Regions from separate parts of the Homo sapiens genome. Here all the other regions are linked to region 4. Evidence: promoter capture Hi-C in 16 types of primary human blood cells and fetal thymus (Javierre and others, 2016). All regions are on one chromosome and are shown on one strand. Each heading gives the region's core, a stretch centred on a gene start or on the middle of the fragment in contact. The rest is flanking DNA. Distances are from core to core; before and after follow the strand shown.

Region 1 (2,700 bases), core at 183-2,682, 590 kb before region 4:
ATTACTTCTTCAGAGAGAGGCCAATGCTTTGGCCATGCAACAGAAGTGGAATTCCCTGGATGAAGGCCGTCACCTTACCTTAAACCTTTTAAGCAAGGAAATTGAACTAAGAAATGGAGAGGTAAAGAAACTGAACCTTTCGGCTTCATGCTTAATGTATTTGTTTTCTGCTGCTGCATCTTGGTTATACCATTACTGAGTGCATTTTGGTGTGCCTATCTCTGATGGATGATTGATTGCTTTTAAAACTTATAACAGAAATAAAATTGTAATCCCAGATTTCTTAAATAATTCTTTAACTAGATCATCGGGATTTTTGTTTTTTTGAGATGGAATCTTGCTCTATCGCCTGGAGTGCAATGGCACGATCTTGGCTCACTGCAGCCTCTGGCTCTCAGGTTCAAGCGATTCTCCTGCCTCAGCTTCCCGAGTAGCTGGGATTACAGGCACCCACCACCATGCCCAGCTAATTTTTGTGTTTTTAGTAGAGACAGGGTTTCACCATGTTGGCTAAGCTGGTCTTGAACTCCTGACCTCAAGTGATCTGCTCGCCTCACCTTCCCAAAGTGCTAGGATTACAGGTGTGAGCCCCCGTGCCTGGCTGATCATTGGGATTTTTTACTTTAATTTAAAAGGGAAACCCCAGGTTCCACAGGTATAAAATCAGTATTTTTCTTTTTTTTTTTTTTTTTTTATTGATCATTCTTGGGTGTTTCTCACAGAGGGGGATTTGGCAGGGTCATAGGACAATAGTGGAGGGAAGGTCAGCAGATAAACAAGTGAACAAAGGTCTCTGGTTTTCCTAGGCAGAGGACCCTGCGGCCTTCCGCAGCGTTTGTGTCCCTGGGTACTTGAGATTAGGGAGTGGTGATGACTCTTAATGAGCATGCTGCCTTCAAGCATCTGTTTAACAAAGCACATCTTGCACCGCCCTTAAGCCATTTAACTCTGAGTGGACACAGCACATGTTTCAGAGAGCACAGGGTTGGAGGTAAGGTCACAGATCAACAGGATCCCAAGGCAGAAGAATTTTTCTTAGTACAGAACAAAATGAAAAGTCTCCCATGTCTACTTCTTTCTACACAGACACGGCTACCATCCGATTTCTCAATCTTTTCCCCACCTTTCCCCCCTTTCTATTCCACAAAACCGCCATTGTCATCATGGCCCGTTCTCAATGAGCTGTTGGGCACACCTCCCAGACGGGGTGGTGGCTGGGCAGAGGGGCTCCTCACTTCCCAGTAGGGGCGGCCGGGCAGAGGCGCCCCTCACCTCCCGGATGGGGCGGCTGGCCAGGCGGGGGGCTGACCCCCCCACCTCCCTCCCGGACGGGGCGGCTGGCCGGGCAGAGGGGCTCCTCACTTCCCAGTAGGGGCGGCAGGGCAGAGGCGCCCCTCACCTCCCGGACAGGGCGGCTGGCCGGGTTGGGAGCTGACCCCTCCACCTCCCTCCCGGTCAGGGCGGCTGGCCGGGCCGGGGGCTGACCCCCACACCTCCCTCCCGGACGGGGCGGCTGGCCGGGCGGGGGGCTGACCCCCCCACCTCCCTCCCGGACGGGGCGGCTGGCTAGGCAGAGGGGCTCCTCACTTCCCAGTAGGGGCGGCCGGGCAGAGGCGCCCCTCACCTCCCGGACGGGGCGGCTGGCCAGGCGGGGGGCTGACCCCCCCACCTCCCTCCCGGACGGGGCGGCTGCCGGGCGGAGACGCTCCTCACTTCCCAGACGGGGTGGCTGCCAGGCAGAGAGGCTCCTCACTTCTCAGACGGGGCGGCTGCCGGGCGGAGAGGCTCCTCACTTCTCATACGGGGCGGCTGCCGGGCGGAGGGTCTCCTCACTTCTCAGACGGGGCGGCCGGGCAGAGACGCTCCTCACCTCCCAGACGGGGTGGCGGCCGGGCAGAGGCATTCCTCACATCCCAGACAGGGCGGCGGGGCAGAGGCGCTCCCCACATCCCAGACGACGGGCGGCCGGGCAGAGACGCTCCTCACTTCCTAGATGTGATGGCGGCCGGGAAGAGGCGCTCCTCACTTCCCAGATGGGATGGCGGCCGGGCAGAGACGGTCCTCACTTTCCAGACTGGGCAGCCAGGCAGAGGGGCTCCTCACATCCCAGACGATGGGCGGCCAGGCAGAGACGCTCCTCACTTCCCAGACGGGGTGGCGGCCGGGCAGAGGCTGCAATCTCGGCTTTTTGGGAGGCCAAGGCAGGCGGCTGGGAGGTGGAGGTTGTAGCGAGCCGAGATCACGCCACTGCACTCCAGCCTGGGCGCCATTGAGCACTGAGTGAACCAGACTCCGTCTGCAATCCCGGCACCTCGGGAGGCCGAGGCTGGCAGATCACTCGTGGTTAGGAGCTGGAGACCAGCCCGGCCATCACAGCGAAACCCCGTCTCCACCAAAAAAATACGAAAACCAGTCAGGCGTGGCGGCGCGCGCCTGCAATTGCAGGCACTCTGCAGGCTGAGGCAGGAGAATCAGGCAGGGAGGTTGCAGTGAGCCGAGATGGCAGCAGTATAGTCCAGCTTCGGCTCGGCATGAGAGGGAGACCATGGAAAGAGAGGGAGAGGGAGACCATGGGGAGAGGGAGACCATGGGGAGAGGGAGAGGGAGAGGGAGAGCAAAATCAGTATTTTTCTTAGTTACAGAGTGATTATACAGAAGATGCAACAGATACTAAACCTGATAGGGATATCGAGTTAGAGC
Region 2 (2,700 bases), core at 198-2,697, 550 kb before region 4:
TGAATAACCTTGTAGCTAGCAATAAGGTGACTTACAGTTGTATAAACAGGAAGCCAGGCTTTTGAACTGTTTACTTAAGATTCTGTGGTGTGACATCTCTGTTATTGTTTCCAGTCAATATTTACAAAGCATCCTAAAGACAGGGTCTTGGAAATTGTCTTCAGATGATCTTAGAGGTCTCTGCCAAGTCTGAGAGTATAATTCTGTAGGTATTGTGTTATTTGCAACGTAAATAGTGCATTTTCTTAATCAAATGATTGTAAATTATATTTACTTGTAATCAGTTCCATAGCTTTAGACGGTGGTTAGATTTTTTTTTTCCCCACCAGGGTCTTGTTTAAAGGGGTGAGCCACCGCACCCAGTCCTGAGGGGTGGCCTCTGCTGCTGGATTTCATGTCTTCCTCCAGCATGACTAAGTCTGGAACAGCAGGAAGGGTTGATGCTTACTGACCTGGTGATGTTAGAAGACAAGTAGTTTATGGATTTAAACATTAGAGCTGGAGTGGGGCTGGAAATCTTTGTAAAGGAAGTTCTTTCAGTAAGATGCCCCTGCTTGTCTTTGTCTCTTTTTTGTTTAACAAGGTAACTTTTTGTTTAACAAGGTAACTTTTTGTTTAACCTAGATTTTTTTTAAAACTTTTTTTTTTTTTCATATTGGAAAAGTAATTCATATTCAGTAGAGGAAAACTGACCAAAACAGAAGCAAAAATAAGAAAATTAAAATAATCTCTAATCCTACTACCTAGAATAAAACACTATTAATATTTTGGTCTGTTTCCTGCCAAGGTGTTTTCTGTGTATACATGGATATTTTGTTTGTTTTTAAACAAAACGATGGGATCATTCTGAACATACTGTTCTATAGTATGGTCAGCTAATAATATATCAGACCTTTTTTTATATTATTAAATATTCTACAACTTTTTAAAAATGTCTATTAATATTCCATCGTATAGATGTGATATAATTTGCTTGATGGTTGTCTCTTAAAAAGAAAGATAGCAAATACTTTTTTTAAATTACAAAAGTGATAGATGTTCATTGTAGAAAATGTAATAAACACTGTTAAGACTTAAAAGCCATATAATTCCACCAACCAAAATTAATCCCTTTTGTCATATTTCTAGTCATTTTTATAGCCTTTTTTTCTATGTATTTATAATAATTATCATTTGCGTTTTTTTCCTTTTTTTAACTTTAAAAATGTATATTCTAGGGTCAGGGGAAATGTAATCTGGAATTAAATATTAGCCTTAAAATTCACAATTTTGATTTTCCTGGCTTTTCAGGAATTGACTAACTGTAAAAGAGTCTTGAAAGTATTTAGTCAACAAACAGAGTGCATTTTTTTTTTTTTTGACTAAGAAAGCTCGTTGTAGTAGAAAGGGTGGAATGTATTGAAAATTATTAGAAGCAGGGAAGTATTGTTAGTCTAGCTTATTTCCTTTCAGTCTTTTTTCAATATTTTTATAAACATTGAGTACTTACTGAATTTAGTTCTGTGCTCTTCCTTATTTAGTGTTGTATCATAAATACTTTGATGTTTCAAACATTCTAAATAAATAATTTTCAGTGGCTTCATAATATTTCATCATTTGGATATATAATAATTTATTTAACCAGTCTCTTTATTTTTATTTATTTATTTTGTTTGTTTTCTTTGAGATGGAGTCTCGCTCTGTCACCCAGGCTGGAGTACAATAGCGTGATCTCGGCTCACTGCAACCTCCACCTCCTGGGTTCAAGCAGTTCTCCTGCCTCAGCCTCCTGAGTAGCTGGGACTACAGGCACATGCCATCACGCCTGGCTAATTTTTGTATTTTTACTAGAGACGGGGTTTCACCATGTTGGCCAGACTGGTCTCAAGCTCCTGACCTCAGGTAATCTGCCCGCCTCGGCCTCCTAAAGTGCCGGGATTACAGGCGTGAGCACGCTGCACGGCCTAACCAATCTCTTTATATTGGTTATTTAGATTCTCAGTGTTTTGCTGAACACTTAATGCCTTTGTGTTTTGGGCTATATTTTGAATTATTCTCATAGATTTCTAGAAGAGGAATTACTGGGCAAATAGGGACACTTAAAAATAGCTTTTACAAACCATCTTCTGTTCTCATTGAAAATGAGAATATATTATGCACTTACAGGGAACTTGACTTTGCTTTTCAAGAACAGAAGTTCTAAAATACAGTAGGGCTGGGTGTGGTGGTTCATGCCTGTAATTCCAGCACTTTGGGAGGCTGAGGCAGACATAGTGAGGCCTCATCTCTACAAAAAATAGAAAAAATTAGCTGGGCACGGTGTTGTACCTCTAGTCCCAGCTACTTGGGAGGCTTAGTCAGGAGGATCTCTTGAGCCTGGGAGGTCAAGGCTGCAGTGAACCATGATTGCACTCCAACCTGGGCGACAGAGACCCTGTCTCAAAAAAAAAAAAAAAAAAAAAAATTAAAAAAAAGAGTAGACATGTAATGGTAATGGAGAAATCCTAGACTTTTTTTTTTGGAGATGGTGTCTCACTCTGTTGCCCAGGCTGGAGTACAGTGGCACAATCTCAGGTTACTGCAACCTCCGCCTCCTGGATTCAAACGATTCTCCTGCCTCAGCCTCCTGAGTAGCTGGGATTACAGGTGCCTGCCACCATGCCTGGCTAATTTTTGTATTTTTAGTAGAGATGGGGTTTCACCATGTTAGCCAGGCTGGTC
Region 3 (2,700 bases), core at 158-2,657, 570 kb before region 4:
GCTAGTGAAGCGGGACATGGAGATCCAGAAACCAGAGCTCCCGCCACCAGCTGGCCTCTCTCCTGACCGGCCAGGCACCGTAGCTGGGCGGCTGGACGGAGCCCAGGGACTGGTAGTTGGTGGAGAAGGTGGAGCGAGTGGTGAAGCTCATGCTGTCTGGAGAGGAGAGAGAGAGGACAGGAGTCAGGCTTTGCTGACCGTATGTGTGTTTTAGACAGGGTCTCACTCTGTTGCCCAGAGCAGTGGCGCAATCATGGCTCACTGCAGCCTTGACCTCTGGGGCTAAAGTGATTCTCCCACCTCAGCCTCCTGAGTAGCTGGGACTACAGGTGCACACCACCATGCCTGGCTAATTTTGTTTTTTTAATTTTCTGTAGAGACAGGTTTCACGATGTTGCCCAGTCTCAAGGATTATTTTGGAATTGTAAGATTTAATATCTGCCCTGCTGAGTTTCAGACTTGCATAGGGCCTGTAGCCCCTTTATTTCGGTCAGTTTCTCCCTTTTGGAATGGGAATGTTTACCCAATGCCTGTACTACCGTTGTTTATTGGAAGTAAATAACTGGTTTTGATTTTACAGGTTCATAGGTGAAAGAAAGTGAGTCTCAGAGAAGACTTAGGACTTTTGATTTGATGTTGGAATGAGTTAAGACTTTGGGGGATTAACGAGAAGGGATTATTGTATTTTGCAACGTGAGGAGGACATGAGATGTGGGGGATGGGTGCCAGGGGAGGAATGATATGATTTGGATATTTGTCCCCTCCAAATCTCATGTTGAAATGTGACCTCGTGTTGGACGTGGGGCCTAGTGGGACGTATTGGATCATGGGGATGGATCCCTCATAAATGGCTTAGTGCCATCCCCTTGGTGATGAGTTCTTGCTCAGTTCATGCTAGATCTGGTTGTTTAAAAGAGGGTGACACCTCCCCTACCCCCACCTTGCTTCTGCTCTCACCACGTGATATGCTGGCGCCTCTTTGCTTTCTGTCATGATTGTAAGCTTCCTCAGGCCCTCACCAGGAGCTAAGCAGCTATTGGTGCCATGCCTGTACAACCTGCGGAACTGTGAGCCAAATTAAACCTCTTTTCTTTATCAGTATCGGTATTTCTTTATGTAGAAATACCAGTCTCAGGTTTTTTTTTTTTTGTTTTTTGTTTTTCTTTTTTTTGAGACAGTCTTGCTCTGTTGCCAGGCTGGAGTACAGTGGCGTTATCTTGGCTCACTGCAACCTCCGCCTCCCGGGTTCAAGCGATTCTTACGCGTTAGCCTCCTGAGTAGCTGGGACTATAGGCGCCCACCACCATGCCCAGCTAATTTTTGTATTTTTAGTAGAGACGGGGTTTCACCATGTTGGCCAGGATGGCCTCAATCTCCTGACCTCGTGATCCACCCCCCTCGGCCTCCCAAAGTGCTGGGATTACAGGCGTGAGCCACCGCGCCCGGCCATCTCAGTTATTTCTTTATAGCATCACAAGAAAGGACTAATACAGCTACTGTTAGTTTCTGGCCACATGAGCTTCTCTGTAGTGCAGCTCACAATATGGTAGAGTGGCTCATCCAAGCAGCAAGCAATACAGGCAACAGAGAGTGAGAGAGAGAGAGTGTGTGCTAAAAAGACGTCACAGTCTTTTATAACCAAATTTTGGAAGCAACATCCCATTACTTTTGTGGTATTCTAATCCTTAGAAGCAAGGGAAAGGGATTACACAGGGCATGAATACCAAGAGGCGGGGAACTTTGGGAGTAGTATCAGTCTGTGTCCAATCAGGAGGTAGAAACTACACAGTACGTTATATGGGGTAAAGCTTAATATAAAGAATCATTAAATGCTAATAAATGACTACCAGCTAAAAGTAAATTCCACATAGTACTCTATAGGTTAGGGAGAGTACCTAAGGAAACACAAACTTGGAAAGGGGTCCACTTCTCAAGGCTGAGGGTCACACCTCGGAGAAGGTATAGTTCAGCCCAGAGGTCCGCTAGTTGGCCCAGGCTGGAACTAGTCACTGGCAGACAGAAAGCTACTCTCCAGGCAGCAGGAGAGGTACACAGGAGCCTGCAGAGAGAGTTGGCTGGTGGGGGACAGGAAACTGGTAGGCGACAGGAAGGAAGCCTTCAGAAAGCTAATTTTCGCATTGAGAGGGCCACAGGAAAATTGTTGCTGGTCTAGACTGAGGTTGCAATGTCACCAAGGGACCATATGTGCTGGACACATGGCTGGGAAAGAGCTCCCCTGGATGTCATTACATCCACATCACTGACCTACCACGAAACTGTGGGAAACAGTAGGAGAGCCCCTCCTCCTGCAATGCCCCTCCAGTGCCCTCTACTGAGAAAGCTCATCACTGTGCTCACTGCAAAGGAGAAATGCTTCACTGAATTCTATCCATTATTGAAGAGCATATATTCAAGGGCGAATTGGGAGCAGAGGGGCAATAAATTGATCATTAGCCTAGGAGCGATTTTAGAAGCTGCCTGCCATAGCCCTATAACTACCAAAGAAATTGAATTAATTATGAAAAACCTTCCCACAAAGAAAACTCCAGGCCCAGATCGCTTCACAGGTTTATTCTATTATTAATAAATATTTAAGGAGAAATAATGCCAATTTTACAGAAGCTACTTCAGAAAGTGGAAGAGGGAACTTACAACTAGTTTTATTAGATAAACATAACCACACAGTACATTACAAAAAAA
Region 4 (2,700 bases), core at 70-2,569:
TATCCCCAGTACCTGGTACATTGCCAGAACACAGAAGACACTGTGAATGTGATGAATACATCAGTGAAAGTCCAGAAAGATAAATTCCTTATCCAGGGTAAACCAGAATCGGATGGGAATCTACCCTTACTATTATGGTAGGTTCTGGGCTTCCCAGCGTTGCCTCCACTGTCTCTGGTTTGCCAGATTTTTGCTTAGAGATAGTAGATGATGTTCTTCTCTAAATGCAGTACCAGGTAAAGAAAGGTACTTGTAGTATCTGACTATACACAGAATCATTATGCACCTGGCACGGCCAAAGAAGGAATGAGACACTTTAACAGGTAGAGAAAGGGCTTTTGCCTAAGAGTTAAGAGATCTGGATTCCAGTATGCCTACCTTATCACTCCCTGCCATCTGCCATTTAGATTCATAATCACACGTATTCAAAAAGCATTTGCGGCAGCTCTACCACTGACTTGTGACTTGTACCAAGTGATTTCTCCTACGTAGATTTTGTTTCAACCATAAAATGAAGGGGTCAGATCAGGTTTTCATTCTTTCCAACTATAAAGCTTTCCAAAATGGGGGGAAATGCAACAGTGTGGTTTAAAACAAAATAAAGGCACTAAACTTAGAGAAAACTCCGAGTCTTGGTTCCAGCACTTCCTAGGCACGTGACCTTAAATCGGTCAAACTCTCAGGACTTCCGTCTCATCTGTAAAACGTAAATGACAATACTATTTGTCAGGGTTAAGTAAATGGAGAAGGGCTACTGAAATGACAACTGTTTTGCCACTGGGTGGCACAGAGTGGTGGTTAAAAGTCCAGGCTTAGGAGTCGGATAGCCCTAGGTCTGAATTTAAGCGCCCTCACTTTCTGACCGCGTGACCCTGGTAAAATTACCTATGTGAGCTTCCGTTTCTTCATTATGGGAGATAATAATATCTACTCCTATGGGATTGTTCTGAAACTCAAACGTTCCCGTCAAGTGTGCGGCTACTCTTTAGTAAGTTCCTCCAGCATCCCCTAAATTCCTAGCTGGTAAAAGGAGCCCCGCCCCCACCCCATGAGACTCGCTCCAATGCCACAGGTCCCGCCCTCAGCCTTAAAGGTCAAGCTGGACTCGAACGGGTCGGGGACGGTAGTCTGGTCCCCTGAGGTCCCCCAGAGGTCCCTGAGTAAGGGTCTCTGGCACCCAGACCACACGCGCCCCTCGAGGCCCTGTCAAGGACACTCACCAGCTATCGCCCAGGTTACTAAGGAAAGACTCGTGCGACGGCGGCGACCGCAGCTGCGCGGACGTCGTGACGTCACGAAGCCAGGAGGCGGCGCAGGCTTAACGCGTCACGGGCGGCCTGGCAGCTGGCGGCATTGAGGCGGACGCGTCTAGAGGTCCGTCTGACCGCGGCGTCGGGACCTGGTTTCCGGGCATGAGCTGAGAGCACCACGCCGAGGCCACGAGGTGAGTTCGGCCGCGACATGTCCCTGCACCTCAGCGATGGGCCCGCTAAGAGGTCTTACAGGAGGCCGCCCTCGCAGGACTGCATCTCAGGCCCCGCCCCGGATTGTCCTGTCGCTGGCCCGGAAATAACAATCCGAGTAATGACCCTTCGCCTGTAGGAATTCGCAGCCAGAAATCGGGAAGCCAGGGTTCCAGGCATGACCCCACCGCTTGCTGTTAGGATCAGGTGTCTCTTCTTCTCTGGATTGCACTTTCCCCAGATGACTATTTCTGGCTTCCAGAGTTATTGCAGCTCAGCTGGAAAGACAAATGTAACCGCGTTTTGTGAACTCTGGTAGTCTAAAGGATTGTTGCTATTGCAAACGCAAAGCATTTTGATAGTCCCGTGCCGTCTTGATCTTTTATTACCCTTTACCTTTCCTCAAAAAGCCATATTCTGAGCTGTCACCAAAATTGTCTTATTTAAGACTCACAACGACCTCGTGAGACGACAAATTGTACCCATTCTAGGAAGGAAAAAGAAACTAAGTCTTCGAGTGGAGAAGCGGCTTGCTTCATTTAGTAAATATTAAGCACCAACCGTGAGACAGGCAGTGTACTTAAGTGCTAGAAATAGAACCGTGATCAAGATTGGCAAGGTCCTGTGCTGTGGGAGCTTACGTTCTAGTGAAGGAAATAGAAGAGGAAACATTAAGTAATACATTGAATTAGCATTTAGTAGGAGGAAAAAGATGGAAAAGTGGCTATGATATAGAATAACAAGGAACTCTGTTTAGGAAAGCTTTTCTATCGAGAGGATGCTTAAAGAAAGGTCATGTGACTTGCTAAAGGTGCAGTTACTAGGTGCAAAAGTCAGGATTTGAACCCAGACCCGCATAGCCTGCACTCTTACCAGTAAAACATGGTACCTTTTCGTGGTAATAAATATTAATAGCTATTGGTATTATTCCTGATTTTAGACATGAGAAAATCAGAATGTCCTATCATTCAAGTCCCAAATGTCATCTCCTTTAGAGAGGCCTTCCCTCCACTCAATCTATAGTCGTCGAGTCCCTGTCACATCACCCTGCTTAATTGTGTTTGTGGCATGTATCACTAATTATATCTTCTTTATTTATTTTGCTTTTGTTTTGTCCTGCTCCCCTTCCAAATACAAGCATCCAGAGGATAGGGACCTTGCTTGTTCACTGCTCTGACTCCAGTAACTGGATAAGTCCTAGATAATAGAAGCAGTGAATTTATTTTTTGAATGAATG
Region 5 (2,700 bases), core at 98-2,597, 640 kb before region 4:
CATGCCTTATTAGTATACATACTTAAGAAATGGTTCATTGGGCCCGAGTTTCTTGATTTTATTTAATACAATCGGATTTAATAATTTTGTGGCCAGTAAAATTATACCATTGGCATGAAGCTGTGAAAAATGAGAAATTCTACCTTTACCAGGGATATCTGTTCTACTGTTTTAAAAGTTCCTCTCTATTTTATTTTTTATTTAACATGAAGTAAAATTGAAATTTCTTCTTGGTGTATAGTTCTGTGAATTTTAACAGAAAGATTTGTGCACCACTACTGCAGTCGGTACAGAACAGTTCCTTCACTCCCAATAGCTCTCTTATGCTGTCCCTTTGTAGTCAGCTCCTTCTAGCTCTAATCCTGGCAACAGTTCTCCGTCACTATTATTTTGCCTTTTCTGGACTGTCATATAAACAGAATCTTATAGTACGTTCCCTCTTGAAATGCTTTTTCACCCAGCATAATGACTTTGAGGTTCATCCATGTCATTTTAAATTTTGAATTGGCAATATATATTCTAGCTGTTACTAGATGAGCAATTTAAAAAGGTGTAGCTATTAGTGTTGTATTTTTTCATTTACATTAATGTAATTTCCATTCACTATGTGTTGATAAAAATCTTAACCATCCCTAGAGTTTTATATTTCCAAAAATATGCCAAAAGGAAAACTATGACTGTATGATTATTTTAGCGAGAGTCATATTTGAGATGGTGTTCTGAGCCATAGTTCTCTAACATCTCCGTCTACATATAACACAAAACTTTTATAAATTATTTTAACAAAGATTAAAATATACTGCAGGGCAAATAATATTCTCTAAAACACAGGAACTGCTTTTCGTAAAGAAGACTGACTAGATGCATCTTTCTTTGAAGCTGTTCTAGTCCTCCTCTAGTTAACTTAGCTTTATGTAGAATTTCTACTGTATTTAATTTCTATTGAAGCCCTTCTGTATTTTAAAATGTAATATACTTTGTACCATTTATAAAAATTGTGTGATGAATGAATCACATGTTCGTTGTTATAAGTGTTAACCTTTTTTTGACAATTTTGTGGGAAAGACATTCTCCACTGAATTTTAACTTTCCTTGAGACTTTCAAGAATGCAGGTCTCGTTTGATGAAAAAACCGACTTCATAACCCAATGTTACTAGTTAGCGACATTGTGCTGAATTTCTCCTTGAACTTTTTAACTTTATATGTAAAATAACTTTGATCTTGGTCATTTGAAAGATCATTTCCAGGTCTAAAATTCCATGATTTTGTATTTAATTCTTCCTGAGAACAGAAGAGGGGAAAGCAAGAGAGGACGGTTTTGTGTCTTTATGAACTTTGTTACTTAAGTACTCCATTGGAGACATAATTTTTCTAATTAGTGGATCTTTTTCCACTGGAAAGTGTGATAGCTCATTGCTAATTTTTCATTCATAGTTCATTGCTTCCATTTGACCTAAGATTGGCCATTTGTTGGTGTGAAAATATTTTCTTTTCAGAAATAGTTTACTAGTGATTGAAGTACTTTTCTTATTTTTGCTTCCTATTATAAAATGGCGTGGGGGGAAGGGGGAAGGATGGAGATGGGAGGAGAGGGTAAAAGAATAGTACTCTGATTTTTTAAGAATTAGTATCTACTATCTTGGATATTTGAAAAAAAATTGGTTGAAACTATGTTTAAGTTTTATGTGTGCCTTGTAAGATTGTTGTAAAATTTTTTGTGAGCACTTTGAGATTTTTGCTGGGGGAGGGGTGTTTTGTGAAAGTGATGGTTATTATTTATATTATTTATTCCTGTTCAGTAGCACGGAATGATCTCCAAACATTCCTAGGAGAGTGTCTGTTTGCATGATATGTCTAAAAATTTTCAGGAAAATGGAATCTTTTTTTAAAGTTCAGGTATGACAAAGTATAGAATTTATTCATTTAACATATTCACATTTAGTTTATGTTTCTGATATGACAGAAAAATGAAAAGTGTTTGAGTTCAGCCTCTTCATTTACTCCATTTACATATAAAAGATCTTGAAAAGGTAGTTGTTACTTCGTTGTCAGAGAAAAACACTTGCCCTTTTTCCTGGGATGTAACTATCTTACATGTTTACATAAGAAATAATAAACTGGAGGTGGGAATGGAGAACAATGTGTTTTGTCTTCATCTTTGAATTTTAAAGGATACAATTTAAAGGATACAATTTCTCCTGACTATACATTAATCATTCATCTAGCAAATACTTCCTGAGTCCTTACAATGAAATATAAGTTAGGTATACAGACAAAAATTCCTGCTCTTGTGAAACATCTTAGTGAAGGGAGACAAACAGTAAACAAGTAAGTAAAATCCATGTATGTCAAATTTTGAGAAGGAATTTGGAGAAAAATCAGGAATAGGGAGTACCAGAGAAGGGGGATGGAATTGCAATTTTAAATATGGTGGTCAGCGCCGGGCGCCGAGGCTCAGGCCTGTAATCCTAACACTTAGGGAGGCCGAGGCTGGCAGATCACTTGAGGTCAGGAGTTTGAGACAAGCCTGGCCAACCTGATGAAAACCCTTCACTAAAAATACAAAAATTAGCCGGGCATGGTAGCGCTTGCCTGTAATCCCAGCTACTCGGGAGTCTGAGACAGGAGAATCCGTTGAACCTGGGAGGCAGAGGTTGCAGTAAGCCAATATCGCACCGCTGCAGTCAGCCTAACTGAGG

Evidence for each region. Contacts are between HindIII fragments. The CHiCAGO score rates a contact against its expected background, and 5 or more counts as called.
Region 1: a fragment that was not itself captured here is called in contact with the fragment with the promoter of RBM18 in region 4 in 6 of 17 cell types (activated CD4 T cells, total CD4 T cells, naive CD8 T cells and 3 more); the score reaches 7.3 in activated CD4 T cells.
Region 2: a fragment that was not itself captured here is called in contact with the fragment with the promoter of RBM18 in region 4 in 13 of 17 cell types (endothelial precursors, naive CD4 T cells, naive CD8 T cells and 10 more); the score reaches 12.3 in endothelial precursors.
Region 3: a fragment that was not itself captured here is called in contact with the fragment with the promoter of RBM18 in region 4 in 8 of 17 cell types (activated CD4 T cells, naive CD4 T cells, M1 macrophages and 5 more); the score reaches 8.8 in activated CD4 T cells.
Region 5: a fragment that was not itself captured here is called in contact with the fragment with the promoter of RBM18 in region 4 in 1 of 17 cell types (monocytes); the score reaches 5.4 in monocytes.

The regions. Positions count from the first base shown.
Region 1 is chr9:122,851,373-122,854,072 of GRCh38, reverse strand. It overlaps RC3H2 (ring finger and CCCH-type domains 2), which reads left to right. Exons shown (of 21, transcript NM_001100588.3): 18 at 1-121; 19 at 2,637-2,700. Among named protein-coding and RNA genes, the nearest start is that of PDCL, 24 kb to the right of the region's middle. RefSeq lists an enhancer at 1,936-2,700. The HindIII fragment of the contact is 6,549 bases long and covers 1-2,700 here.
Region 2 is chr9:122,817,231-122,819,930 of GRCh38, reverse strand. It overlaps PDCL (phosducin like), which reads left to right. Exons shown (of 4, transcript NM_005388.5): 4 at 1-1,834. Among named protein-coding and RNA genes, the nearest start is that of PDCL, 10 kb to the left of the region's middle. The HindIII fragment of the contact is 3,417 bases long and covers 1-2,700 here.
Region 3 is chr9:122,835,005-122,837,704 of GRCh38, reverse strand. It overlaps the pseudogene KRT18P67. Among named protein-coding and RNA genes, the nearest start is that of PDCL, 7.8 kb to the right of the region's middle. The HindIII fragment of the contact is 806 bases long and covers 1,005-1,810 here.
Region 4 is chr9:122,263,459-122,266,158 of GRCh38, reverse strand. RBM18 (RNA binding motif protein 18) reads left to right here and starts at 1,319. Exons shown (of 6, transcript NM_033117.4): 1 at 1,319-1,444. It overlaps MRRF (mitochondrial ribosome recycling factor), which reads right to left and starts at 1,277. Exons shown (of 7, transcript NM_138777.5): 1 at 1,221-1,277. RefSeq lists enhancers at 860-1,019, 195-1,165, 588-1,787, 1,166-2,137. The HindIII fragment of the contact is 1,671 bases long and covers 557-2,227 here.
Region 5 is chr9:122,907,491-122,910,190 of GRCh38, reverse strand. It overlaps ZBTB6 (zinc finger and BTB domain containing 6), which reads left to right. Exons shown (of 2, transcript NM_006626.6): 2 at 1-2,135. Among named protein-coding and RNA genes, the nearest start is that of RC3H2, 3.5 kb to the right of the region's middle. The HindIII fragment of the contact is 5,725 bases long and covers 1-2,700 here.